Regions from separate parts of the Homo sapiens genome. Here region 2 is linked to region 1. The links are contacts of gene promoters, found by promoter capture Hi-C in human tissues and cell types (Jung and others, 2019). All regions are on one chromosome and are shown on one strand. The core of a region is centred on a gene start or on the middle of the fragment in contact, and the rest is flanking DNA. Distances in the headings are between cores, read along the strand shown. Region 1 holds the start of PRSS38 (serine protease 38). Region 2 has its middle 79 kb from the start of LINC01641.

Region 1 (3,451 bases), core at 649-3,148:
ATCTACCATTCTGGGGTCTGGAGGACAGTGGCCCTCTTCTCACAGCTCCACTAGGCAGTGCCCCAGTGGGGGCTCTGTGTGGGGGCTTCAACCCCACATTTCCCTTCTGCACTGCCCTAGCAGAGGCTCTCAATGAGGGCCCCACCCCTGCTGCAAACTTCTGCCTGAATATCCAGGCGTTTCCATACATACTGCGAAATCTAGGCGGAAGTCCCCAAACCTCAGTTCTTGACTTGTGTGCACCCACAGGCTCAACACCATGTAGAAGCTGCCAAGGCTTGGGGCTTGCACCCTCTGCAGCCATGGCCTGAGCTGTACCTTTGTCCCTTTCAGCCATGGCTAGAGCAGCTGGAATGCAGGGCACCAAGTCCCTAGGCTGCACACAGCATGGGGGCCCTGGGACTGGCCCAAGAAACCATTTTTTCCTCCTAGGCCTCCAGGCCTGTGATGAGAGGGGCTGTGAGAAAGCTCTTTGACATGCCCTGGAGAGACATTTTCCCTGTTGTCTTGGCCATTAACATTTGTTTCCTCATTACTTATGCAAATTTCTGCAGCCAGTTTGAATTTCTCCTCAGAAAATGGGTTTTTCTTTTTCTATCACATCATCAGGCTACAAATTTTCCAAACTTTTATGCTCTGTTTCCCTTTTAAAACTGAATGCTTTTAACAGCACCCACGTCACCTCTTGATGCTTTGCTGCTTAGATATTTTTTCCACCAGATATGCTAAATCATCTCCCTCAAGTTTAAAGTTCCACAAATCTCTACAGCAGGGGCAAAATGCTGCCAGTCTCTTTGATAAAACATGGCAAGCATTACCTTTACTCCAGTCCTTATCTCCATCTGAGACCACCTCAGCCTGGATTTCATTGTCCATATCATTATCAGCATTTTGGTCAAAGCCATTCAACAAGTCTCTAGGAAATTCCAAACTTTCCCATATTTTCCTGTCTTCTTCTGAGCCCTCTAAACTGTTGCAACCTCTGCCTGTTACCCAGTTCCAAAGTTGCCTCCTGGCAGGGAAATTGTTTTGGGATGATTCAAGCATATTACATTTATTGTCCACTTTATTTCTATTATTATTACATTGTAATATATCATGAAATAATTATACAACTCACCATAATGTAGAATCAATGGGATAAATTTTAGTAGATATAAATGAAGGCTTAATGAATTTTTTTTTTTTTTTTTTTTGAGACAGAGACTTGCTCTGTCACCCAGGCTGGAGTGCAGTGGTGTGATCTCGGCTCACTGCAACCTCTGCCTCTCAGGTTCAAGCGATTCTCCTGTCTCAGCCTCCCAAGGAACCAGGATTTCAGTTGCACGCCACCACACCTAGCCAATTTTTGTATTTTCAGTAGAGACAGGGTTTCGCCACATTGGCCAGTCTAGTCTCAAACTCCTGACCTCAAGTGATCCATCTGCCTCACCCTCCCAAAGTGCTGGCATTATGGTGTGAGCCACGGTGCCCAGCCTATTTCTTTTTCTTTTCTTTCTTTTTTTTTTTTTTTTTGATAGCTGGGTGGCAGATGTATAAATTGTCATTGACCTAACAGAATTAAGCTGGGCCATGGAGAAAACTGAGAACATCACGATTCAAAACACAGAATTCTCAAATGGACCAGTGTGTTTAGACCTGACTGTGGAATGGAATGCCACACCTAGGCATATGAGGTATGGTTGGGGCACTGTCACATGTCCAGCTTGGGAGCCATCATGTGCCCAGGTCGGGAGAGGTAAATCCACGAGACACAGACATGTGCTGGGGGTGCAGTCGCATGTCCAGGTCAGGTGCCCTCACTTGCTGGGAGTGCCATCTGCTAGTGGGAGCCAGTCACATGTTGGGGTGCAACCACCTGTTGGGGGCGCAATCCTGTGCTGGAGACACAGTCACATGTCGGGAGCTAGTCACCCGCTGGGGGCGCTGCCTCGAGCCTCATGGCTGCCCCTGCTTCCGTCATGGGCCCACTCGGGCCCTCTGCCCTGGGCCTTCTGCTGCTGCTCCTGGTGGTGGCCCCTCCCCGGGTCGCAGCATTGGTCCACAGACAGCCAGAGAACCAGGGAATCTCCCTAACTGGCAGCGTGGGTAGGCCCTGCCCCAGGGGCGGATGGGCGGCTGGAGACAGTGCCCTTGGGGCGTCTGTCGGTGCTGGGCCTCCTCCCCCATGTCGCCTGCCCATCCCTTCCCCTCCCCCATGTCCCCTGCCTTCCCTTCCTCCTGTGTCCCCTGCCCCTCCCCCACGTCCCCTGCCTGCCCTACCTCTCCCGTGGCCCCAGCATGGCTCCACCGTCAGCTCCGTTCTCCCTGCAGCCTGTGGTCGGCCCAGCATGGAGGGGAAAATCCTGGGCGGCGTCCCTGCGCCCGAGAGGAAGTGGCCGTGGCAGGTCAGCGTGCACTACGCAGGCCTCCACGTCTGCGGCGGCTCCATCCTCAATGAGTACTGGGTGCTGTCAGCTGCGCACTGCTTTCACAGGTAAGCGGGCGCCGGCCTGGGATGGTGTGGGTAGCTGGGCCTGCACGGAGTGCCCACAGCGGCTTGGATGGACCCCACGCAAGCCTCCCCCATCACCATTGTCGACTCCCTTCACCACTGTCGACCCGCGCAAGGCCAGGTCCCCACCAGTGAGGCTGGTCCCCAAACACACAGCTGGGTCCCCATTCTTGAGGCTGGTCCCCCAAGTGCACAGCCAGGTCCTCAAGAGTGATGCTGGTCCCCAAGATCACAGCCAGGTCCTCATATGCAAGGCTGATCCCCTAAGTGTACAGTTAGGTTCCCATGAGCTAGGTTGGTCCTCAAATGCACAGCCTGGTCCCCATGTGCAAGGCTGGTCCCCTAAGTGCACGACCAGGTCCCCACGAGTGAGGCTGGTCCTCAAGGGCACAGCCAGATTCCCACAAGTGAGGCTGGTCCTCAAGGGCACAGCCAGATTCCCACAAGTGAGGCTGGTCCTCAAGTGCACAGCCAGGTCCCACAAAAGTGAGGCTGCTCCTCAAGTGCACAGCCAGGTCCTCATAAGCAAGGCTGGTCTCTAAGCACCTGGCCTTCCCGATTGCTCCTCCAACAGCCCCATTCACCACAGCTGCCCCGCACAGCAGGCACGCCTCTCCTGTGGCCATCTGGCCTCCAGAGGGATGTGTGCAACCAGGTTGTCAGTAAGAGTCAGAGCAGGTCTCACATGCATGGGCTGCTGGCCTGTACAGCTGGTGGTCGTGTACAGACTTGGGTCCCCAGAGCCTCCATGGGCCAAGTCGACTCTTTAGGGGGCAACTCTTCCAGACAGCCAGATAGGTCCCTACTATGCTGCAGGAAGAAACTGGCTTTTCAATCCCACCGAGTGAGTGCCAGCCCCTTGCGCTTGGCCTCCCCAGGCCTGTGGGCTGACCACACAGGAAGCTGCGGGCATTGTACCTCTGTTCTCACCCCCACAGGGACAAGAATATCAAAATC
Region 2 (3,661 bases), core at 956-3,455, 340 kb before region 1:
GCTCAGGGTCTTGCAGCTCTCTGCAGCCTCAGGACATGGCACCCTCTGTCCATGCTGCTCCAGCTCCAGCCATAGCTAAAAGGGGCCAAGGTACAGCTCAGACCATTGCTTCTGAGGGTGCAAGACCCAAGCCTTGGTGTTTTTCATGTAGTGTTGGGCCTGCAGGTGTGCATAAGGCAAGAGCTGAGGTTTTTGAGTCTCTGCCTAGATTTCACAGGATGTATGAAAATGCCTGGATGTTGAGGTAGAATTCTGCTGCAGGGGTGGAGCCCTTGTGGAGAACCTCTACTAGTACAGTTCAGAGGGGAAATGTGGTGTTGAAGCCCCTGTACAAAGTCCCCATTGGGGCACTGCCTAGTGGAGCCGTGAGAAGAGGGCCACCATCCTCCAGACCCCAGAATAGTAGATCCATTGACAGCTTGCACTGTGTACCTGGAAAGCTTCAGGCACTGAATGCCAGACTGTGAAAACAGCTATGGTGGCTCTACTCTGCAGAGCCATAGGGTCAGAGCTTCCCAAGGCCATGGGAGCCCACCCCTTGCATCAATATGGCCTGGATGTGAGCTATGGAGTCAAAGGAGATTATTTCAGAGCTTTGAGACTTAATGGCTGCCCTGCTGCATTTTAGACTTGTATGGGGCCTGTAGCCCCTTCATTTTGGCCAATGTCTCCCATTCGGAATGGGTTTATTCATCCAGTGACTCTACCCCCATTATATCTTGTAACTGTTTATTTGCAGGCTCATAGGTAAAAGGGATTTGCCTTGTCTCAGATGAGATGTTGGAGGTGGACTTTTGAGTTAATGCTGAAATTAGTTAAAACTTTGGGGGACCGCTGGGATAGCATGACTGTGTTTTGCAATGTTAGAAAGACATGAGATTTGGGAGGGTCCAGGGTAGGATGATATAGTTTGGCTCTGTGTCACCATCTAAATCTCATGTCAAATTGTAATTCCTAATGTTGGGGGAGGGATCTGGTAGGAGGTGATTGGATCATAGGGACATTTCTTCCTTGTTGTTCTCATGATATTGAATGAGTTCTCATGAAATCTAGTTATTTAAACGTGTGTAGCACTTCCCCCTTTACTCTCTCCCTCCTGCTTCACCATGTTAAGACGTGCTTGCTTCCCCTTCACCTTCTGCCATGATCGTAAGTTTCCTGAGGCCTCCCAGCCATGATTCCTGTACAGCATACAGAACTGTGAGTCAATTAAACCTCTTTTCTTCATAAATTACCCAGTCTCAAGTGGTTCTGTGGTTCTTTATAGCAGTGTGAGAACAGACTAATACAGTTGGGTTTTATTCCTTTCAACAGCAAGCCTATAGAAAAAGATCAACTGCTTGGGCTGGAGGAGAAGAACACTTAGGTCAATACATGATTTGTTAGCAACCAGCTAGAGTTTAGGAGAGAACACTTTTGCTGTGCACTTGAAAAGAAACCTGTCTATGGGCACTGGATAAGACACAGGCCTTTTCATGAAGCTTCAAGCCATTCAGAAAGCTTAGCACATGATGGAGGAAAACAGGAATGGTGTTTCCAGATGTAGAGAGATAGGTGATGCTGGAGGGAAAGCTGGATCAGAAGAGAAGGAGTTCATTGTAGATGAATTAGGTTTAATGTCCCTGTGAGATAGCAGAGTGGTAGTGTTCAGTCATCATGTGGATATACCGGACTGGAACCTGAATGTGAGCTAGAGGTAATGAATGAGCAGTATGAGTAGCTACTTAAATGTGGAGAAAGTGTGTAGAGTGAAAGTGGACATGCTGGGCATGGTAGCAAATGTCTCTAGTCCCAGCTGCTTGGGAGGCTGAGGTGGGAGGATTGCTTGAGCCCAGGAATTTTTGTGTGGCCTGTGCAACATGGTGAGACCCCATCTCTTAAAAAAAAAAAAGAGAGAGAAAGTGAATAGAAGATAGGCCTGTAAGGACTATCAGGATGTAAGGAACAAGCCCTCAGATATGTAGGTAGAATTGGAGGAGGAAAAGCAGGATAGGTTACTAAAAGAACAAAGAATTCAAGATAATAGAGGCTGTGATACAGTGCTAAATGCTGCCAGGAAGTTGTTCACTCTGTAAACACTGAATGCTGACTCTGCCACTCTTCTAAGTGCTGGAGTAGAGAGGACAGGTTGAACACAGTTTTTGCCTTTATGAGCTTATGGCCTAATGAAGAAGACATTTTTTTTTTTCAGGTAGTGGCAAATAGCAAGAAAAGAAATTGGGATAAAAGGAAACAGAGTGATTGGAGGAGTTCTTAATTTTAGATCGAATGAGAAGGAGCCTCTCTAGAGAAGTAACATTTGAAAAGTGACCTGACAAAAGTGAGGAAGGGAAGGAGCACGGACATTACAGGCACTGAGGTGAGTGCCAAGACTGGGACAGAAATGTGTTTCATATGTGTTCAGTGAACATATAGCAAGGGGGCCAGCATGGTCAGAGTGAGAAATGAGGGAAGTAATGGAGAAGATGAGATCACACAGGCAATGCCATAACTCACAGGGCCTTTTGTCTTGCAGGCCATGGGAAGAAGTCAAGTTTTTATTCCAGTTTTATGGGTAACTTTTGTCATATCTTGAGCAGGGGAGTGCAGTGCTCTCAATTTAAGAAGTTATGCTGACTGCTTTGGGGGGAGTAGACCATAGCAGGGAGGCAAAGTAGAGGCAGAGTAGAAAGTTAAGAAGCAACTAGGGGTGGCTGGCAAAATGGCCAAATAGGAACAGCCCTGGTCTGCAGCTCCCAACGAGACCAACAGAGAAGGTGGGTGATTTCTGCATTTCCAACTGAGGTACCTGGCTCATCTCATTGGGACTAGTTAGACAGTGGGTACAGCCCATGGAGAGCAAGCCAAAGGAGGGTGGGGTGTCACCTCACCTGGGAAGCACAAGAGGTTGGGGAACTCCCTCCCTTAGCCAAGGGAAGCCATGAGGAATTGTGCCATGAGGAATGGTGCACTCTGGCCTAGATACTATGCTTTTCCCATGGTCTTTGCAACCCACAGACTAGGAGATTCCCTTGGGTGCCTACACCACCAGGGACCTGGGTTTCAAGCACAAAACTGGGCAGCCATTTGGGCAGACATTGAGTTAGCTGCAGGAGTTTTTTTTTTCATACCCTAGTGGTACCTGGAATGCCAGCGAGACAGAGCTGTTCACTCCCCTGGAAAGGGGGCTGAAGCCAGGGAGCCAAGTGGTCTAGCTCAGCAGATCCCCCCACCCCCGCCACAGAGCCCAGCAAGCTAAGATCCACTGGCTTGAAATTCTCATTGCCAGCACAGCAGTCTGAAGTTGACCTGGGATGCTGGAGCTTGGTGGGGGGAGGGGCGTCTGCCATTACTGAGGCTTGAGTAGGCAGTTTTCCCATCACAGTGTAAACAAAGCCGCAGGGAAGTTTGAACTGGGCAGAGCCCACTGCAGCTCGGCAAAGCTGCTGTAGACAGACTGCCTCTCTAGATTCCTCCTCTCTGGGCAGGGCATCTCTGAAAGAAAGGCAGCAGTCCCAACCAGGGGCTTATAGATAAAACTCCCATCTCCCTGGGACAGAGCACCCGGGGGAATGGGTAGCTGTGGGCACAGCTTCAGCAGACTTAAACATTCCTGCCTGCCAGCTCTAAAGAGAGAAGCAGATCTCCCAGTACGGCACTCGAGCTCTACTAAGGGACAGAT

What was found. The method cuts DNA at HindIII sites, captures the fragments that hold promoters and counts their contacts. A contact is called where the count stands out against the background at its distance.
Region 2: a contact is called between a fragment that was not itself captured here and the fragment with the promoter of PRSS38 in region 1, in 1 of the 25 tissues and cell types used here (H1 embryonic stem cells).

What each region holds. Positions count from the first base shown.
Region 1 is chr1:227,813,777-227,817,227 of GRCh38, forward strand. It overlaps PRSS38 (serine protease 38), which reads left to right and starts at 1,899. Exons shown (of 5, transcript NM_183062.3): 1 at 1,899-2,088; 2 at 2,314-2,476; 3 at 3,433-3,451. The coding sequence starts at 1,941. The HindIII fragment of the contact is 13,958 bases long and covers 1-3,451 here.
Region 2 is chr1:227,470,900-227,474,560 of GRCh38, forward strand. No RefSeq gene overlaps it. Among named protein-coding and RNA genes, the nearest start is that of LINC01641, 79 kb to the left of the region's middle. RefSeq lists an enhancer at 3,307-3,661. The HindIII fragment of the contact is 4,267 bases long and covers 73-3,661 here.